Regions from separate parts of the Homo sapiens genome. Here region 2 is linked to region 1. The links are contacts of gene promoters, found by promoter capture Hi-C in human tissues and cell types (Jung and others, 2019). All regions are on one chromosome and are shown on one strand. The core of a region is centred on a gene start or on the middle of the fragment in contact, and the rest is flanking DNA. Distances in the headings are between cores, read along the strand shown.

Evidence for each region. Contacts are between HindIII fragments. The study calls those that stand out against the background at their distance.
Region 2: a fragment that was not itself captured here is called in contact with the fragment with the promoter of NEK3 in region 1 in 1 of the 25 tissues and cell types used here (dorsolateral prefrontal cortex).

Annotation. Positions count from the first base shown.
Region 1 is chr13:52,157,896-52,160,875 of GRCh38, forward strand. It overlaps NEK3 (NIMA related kinase 3), which reads right to left and starts at 1,702. Exons shown (of 16, transcript NM_002498.3): 1 at 1,648-1,702. RefSeq lists silencers at 1,389-1,498, 1,579-1,638. The HindIII fragment of the contact is 9,103 bases long and covers 1-2,980 here.
Region 2 is chr13:51,892,979-51,896,054 of GRCh38, forward strand. It overlaps a transcript of TMEM272 not described here. Among named protein-coding and RNA genes, the nearest start is that of CCDC70, 33 kb to the left of the region's middle. The HindIII fragment of the contact is 3,594 bases long and covers 1-3,076 here.

The DNA of each region.
Region 1 (2,980 bases), core at 452-2,951:
AGACGGAGTCTCGCTCCTGTTGCCCAGGCTGGAGTGCAATGGTGCGATCTCGGCTCACCGCAACCTCCACCTCCCAGGTTCAAGTGATTCTCCTGCCTCAGCCTCCCGAGTAGCTGGGATTACAGGCATGCGCCACCACGCCCGGCTAATTTTGTATTTTTAGTAGAGACGCGGTTTCTCCATGTTGGTCAGGCTGGGCTCGAACTCCCGACCTCAGATGATCCGCCCGCCTCGGCCTCCCAAAGTGCTGGGATTACAGGCGTGAGCCACCCCGTCCGGCCCTAGTGTTCGTTTTTTAATTACACCACAAAGAATTATAAGGCAGAGAGAGCATGACAGGCAAAGCAAAAATCAAACTAAAACCTCTACTATAGTGACCTGTAAAAATTCCAGTTTGTATTACTGTTTATCACAGAATTACCAGGAAATCCTAGAAATAATTTCTTCATATAACCAAATCAGTCATACACATTGTCTTCGAAACAATGTTTTTCCAAGATCGATGAGGTCTTTTGAGTGTATATAGATGTGAAAGAAACAAGTCCTTTACTACTATTCTAACACCTGGTATTACACGGTTTAACATGGAAGCCAAGTTTCCCCATGATCTTATTCTTCGTTTCTTCGGGGCTTTATTCTATGCAATGGAGAGTAACTGAAAATTAAGAGCAACCAGACTTCTTAGCTGAAAACCACATTTGATATTTTCTGCCCACATTTGCCTGTTACTCAATATTACACCCATATGATCATTACAAGACCTGAATACACTCTGGACATGGCAAAAGTATATCGGCCCCTTCGCATGCCTGCAACAATACTTTTAAAAACCTAATAAAGTGATTTGCAAATACCCAGAAGTGGGATCACCAGTGAGATACGGGCTAAGTTCAGAAAGGTCCCTGAAACCACCTTTACAGATGTATAAGTAATGCGAGAAATCTAACATGACTGACTCCATCTTGCTTCTAACCTCACGGGCTAAGTTTTCACCGTGTTGTCGTTTTCTTATTCTAGCACAGAGGCTAGGATAACTGGGAGAGGGATTTCGTGTAAACTTCAAGACAAGGGAAACTGACCCCACCCCTTCCTGGGAACCAACGAAGCCGCCCCGAGTTTCAGAAGCTCTTGTGATTTCATCCCCAGCCGGTCAACTGTTTCAGTTCCCCAGCCCCCCGAAGCCAAAATGCCCTTTAAAACCCTCGCCCCCGAATTCTCGGGGAGACAGGTCTGAGACCCTGTTCTGGTTTGGCCAGCCCTGCGCTTATTAACTTCTTTTTTTGCTGCAACAGCGGTTCTCACTGGTTCTTTCCGGGCAGCGAGCGAGAAGAATCCGTTGAGCCGGGGCCGGCGCCCGCGGGGCAACTGCACCGCGGGGGAGCCCAGTCGCCCCGCTCACCCGTGAGGGCCCTTTCTCCTGGAAAAGCCGCTCCGCCCTGCTGACCCCCACGGCACCGCGCGCCCAGACCCCAAGGCGGCGAGGGACTTGCGGGTTTGCGGCGAGTGGTCCAGACCGCGGGGCGGAAGTGAGGGGCGCGGCCGCGCGTCCGGGGCGCGTCTACCCCTCGCTCCCACTCGGCTCCGCGCCGCGACCACGCGCCGCCCTCCTCGTTCTAGAGGCAGCCCGCCAGGGCGGGGACCACTCACCCGCTTCCCCGGCGACCCTAGTCCACTCCTTGGCCTGGCAACCGGCGGCTTCCGCGGGGCGGGCCCGGCGGGTCGTCTCTCGGGTTGCGGGTGAAGGAAGCCGCCTGGGTCTGGCGGGAGGCACTGTTCTTGGAGTAGCCGGGCCTACGAAGAGCACGTTTTAAAGCTGTTGTTCCACGTTGCGGTGGAACAGTGCTGTTAACATTGAGGGAAATTGTCCCCGACTAACTGAGTTCTGTCTGCAGGTTAAGTGAAAGCCTATGTAGATAAATTTCACGGGCACAGCACTCAGTGCTAGCTAGAACTTACTAGCTATGTGACCTTGGGCAATTGTGGAAGGCGGGATAATGCTTCCGCCTCAGGATGTCCACATCCTACTCCCTGGAACCTGTGCGTTTGTTCTCTTGCTTGGCAGAGGGGGTTAAGATTGCAGATGGAATTAAGGTTGCTTATCAGCGGACTTTAAAATAAGGTGACGATCTTGGAGTGTGTGCTTGGGTAATTACAAAGTAATTACAAGGGTTCTCTAAAGTGGAAGGGGCCCAAAAAGAAGGTCAGTATGAGAAAGCTATTTGAAGGTGGAGGAAGGGGCAACAGCCAAGGAATGCAGCTGGCCTCAAGAAGCTGGAAGAGGAGCAGGCACAGTGTCTCATGTTTGCAATCCCAGTGCTTTGGAAGGCAGAGGCAGGAGAGGAACACTTTAGCCCAGGAGTTCGAGATCAGCCTGGGCAACATAGTGAGACACTCGTCTCTACGAAAAATTAACTAGACATAGCGACGGGCACTGTGGTCCCAGCTGCTCGGGGGATTGGGGCAGGAGGATCACTAGAGCTGGAGAGGGCTCATGATCCCACCACTGCAGTCCAGCTTTGGTGACAGAGCAAGAACCTGTCTCCAAAAAAAAAAAAAAATATATATATATATATATATATATATATAAAGGAGGAGGTGGGAGGTGGAAAAGGAGGAGAAGCTAGAAAAGGAGGGAAAAACAAAAAACAAAAACCAAATTGTTCCCCAGAGCTTCCAGAAGTAACAGTCCAGCTGACCCCTTGATTTTTTTGTTTTTTGAAACAGGGTCTTGCTATGTTGCCAAGACTGGTTTTGAGCTCCCGGGCTCAAGCGATCCGCCCACCTCAGCCTCCTGAGTGGCTGGGACTACAGGAAAACCACCATGCACACTGACGCCTTGATTTTAACCCAGTGAGCTGTATTTCTGAACTTCAGAACTGTAAGGTAATAAATTCGTGTCGTTTTAGCCACTTAGGTTGTCACAGTTTGTTACAGAAGCCTTAGGAAACTAATACAGCAGAGTAACTAAATCCCTCTGTAT
Region 2 (3,076 bases), core at 447-2,946, 260 kb before region 1:
TGAACCTAGTAAAAGTTCTTGGCTAATTTGTTCAGCTCTTCCCATTTTCTGACAAACATCATACATCCATCCTTCATGCTCCTTGAGTTGTCTGCACACACTCCTTAAACATCCACCTGTCCTTGGCAGTAACAATGAGCTCCCTGGCAAGGACTTTGTACCAGGGCCTTCTCTCCAAGGGTTCACAGGAACAGAAGTCAAACTAAGGAGACCTTCTCAGATGGAGATTAGCTTAGTTTTCTTTCTTTGCAGTTCTCGAGTATTTGTTTAGAGGATTAGGAGAGAGCTTAAATTATATCTGTGTTTTAGCCATTTTAATTTGCCAGTATTAAATGCATCAAAAGCTCTGTCTCCCTCAGTAAAGAAGTACATGCGAAAAGCATCCCAAATTAGAAAGTCTGGGCCTTGTTTCTGTGCTGAAGTATTGTCCCTCCTTCCCTGCACCCTAATCTCAGATCCCCCTCTTCCTTTAGCTTCACCAGGACCTGCTGCTTCAGAATCACTGTGGTCCTGAGACTAATCAGGAAAAAACAGCAACAACGATGAATGTGTGTTTTTCTGGGATTCTCCCCAAAACAATGTTTACTTTAGAGGAGCTGTACAAAAATCTCTTCCCCTGGCTCACACCGTATGCGCTTCTGCTTGGCCTCTTCACATTGAGAATGTGAACATTCAAATGATCAGCATCAGCTGAAGACTCGATCACCAGGGAATGTGATCGTGCTCAGAGGAGGCCACACAGTTGCTTCTGCGTTTGGGAAAATGTTTTTTATTTAATTAATGTTATTTATTGGATAGGTGCCCAGAATTAAGGTCAGTCCTGAAAAGACTGTTTTTTAAGATGTAAAAATAATTCCAAAAGCTTGTCATCTTGTTGTGGAGAAAACAAATATAATACATGAAATCCTCAATGCAGAACTTTGTATGATTTAAATAATAACGAAGATCACAATAGTAATAAATGATGAAGACAGTAGTGCTATATGCAGAGCAAAGAAGGAAGAAGTCATCACACAGGACGGAGCCTGGAAGGCCTGAGACAGGCCAGCAAGTTTCTAATCTTCAAATTGAGACTAAATGGATACAGACACACCACACCCCCTGCATTGAAGAACTGCTTGGGGAACAAGTTTGTAGTCATCACAACTTTAGAGGTTAAAAAGTGTCAGCAACAATTCAAATCATCAAGGAGGGAGTGGGATGTATTGGGACAGATAACTGTGAAAGGACAGGGACAGAAGTGGCTGCAGGCACAACTGGATTCAGGAACTAAAGCAAAGGCATGAGTGCTCTCCAGCTCTCCACACCTCATGTGTTGGGCCTGTTCTCTCTCCCTACAGACACTCTTTCTTTGTGAGTCAGGGGACTGGGACATCAGCACAGGAAATACCAGCTTTATGCCCTCCCAGGTAATAAAAATCCAAGATAGAAGAGCCCTACATGTGGAAGTTCAGTAAAAGGACTCTGATTGGCCAGGTTTGGGTGACGTATTCACCCTTGGAGCCAATCACTGCAGCTGGGGATGAGGCGATGGTGGTTGGCTGGGGTTTTGCTGGGGAGCTAAGTTCTGTAAATCTGAAAATTACAGCTGCAGGGTGAGAAGCAGATGCCCAGTGGATGTTCAAAGGAAAGGCGCGAAAGGACTGAGAAGTTTGCAAAAGGGCAAACCCAAATGTGCAAATGGAGCCTGCAGTCGCTTAAAGCAGTGGTCCCCAACGTTTTTGGCACCAGGGACCAGTTTCGTGGAAGACAATTTTTCCATGGACCAGGCTGGGGAATGGTTTCAGGATGATTCAAGTGCATTACATTTAGTGTGCACTTGATTTCTATTATTATTACATTGTAATATATAACGGAATAATTCTACAACTCACCATGATGTAGAATTAGTGGGAGCCCTGAGCTTGTTTTCCTGCAACTAGATGGTCCCATCTGGGGGTCATGGGAGACAGTGACAGATCATCAGGTGTTAGATTCTCATAAGGAGTGGGGAAACTAGATCACTGGCATGCACAGTTCACAATAGGGTTCATGCTCCTATGAGAATCTAATGCCACTGCTGATCTGACAGGAGGTGGAGCTCAGGTGGTAATTTAAGTGATGGGGAGCAGCTGTATATACAGATGAAGCTTCGCTTGCTCACCTGCCACTCACCTCCTGCTGTGTGGCCCAGTTCCTAACAGGCCATGGACAAGTACTGGTCCATAGCCCAGGGGCTGGGGACCCCTGACTTAAAGGAAAAAGGAACTTGGGTCAGCCTGGCTGAGATGCATGTGGTATTGGGGTGGTTTGTGGGGAGCTGCAGAGAACCCATAACCAGCATAGGCTCTGATAGCATTGTCCTCTTCAGCTGCCATTGTGGGGTGGGAAACTGCCTCTGAAGATGGTTTTCTAAATATTCCTTATGGATGGGGCTCACACTCGGTAGTAACTGCAGGGAAATCGAGCCACAAGACAGTGGCTCAAGTCAGATTCTCTGTGCTTTAGGCAGGGAATGGATTCTGGCTGTCTCTTGGATAGCCCTGAAAAGAACTCTGGTGGGAAGGTGCAGAGGGGTGTTTGCTATGGGCTCCACCTGGGACATTTATCCATCTACCTGTGGGACAGGGCCTGAAGCTAGGGCTACCAAGATAGCAGACCAGGCATTTCCTCATCTTCAACCTCCTGTCCCCTCACTCCTCCCAGCTAGACCCTGACACCACTGCCTACATCCCCCCACCCTCTGCCCTGGGATGGGGGAAAAAATAAAACAGCTGAGCATGCAGCTAATGATGATATTTACAGCTACCAGTAGGGAGTGTTCCCAATGCGCCAAATGCTTAACATCCGTGATCTGACAGCCCCCCTGTGATGGTAAATATCCTCTCCACTTCTCAGATTCCAATACACAACCCCTGAGACTCAGGATGCTCTTGCCATGGTCTTTTTTCCCTTTTTAAATTTTTACAAAAATTTCCCACATAGCAACCAACGTAACCACAAGCCTCTTCTAACAGCTGCCTGACCCTCCTCCTCTTAGCCTAAACACTTCATCTCTTTTCTGTGGACAATGCCTGCTTTCAAAAGCTCTTTTCTT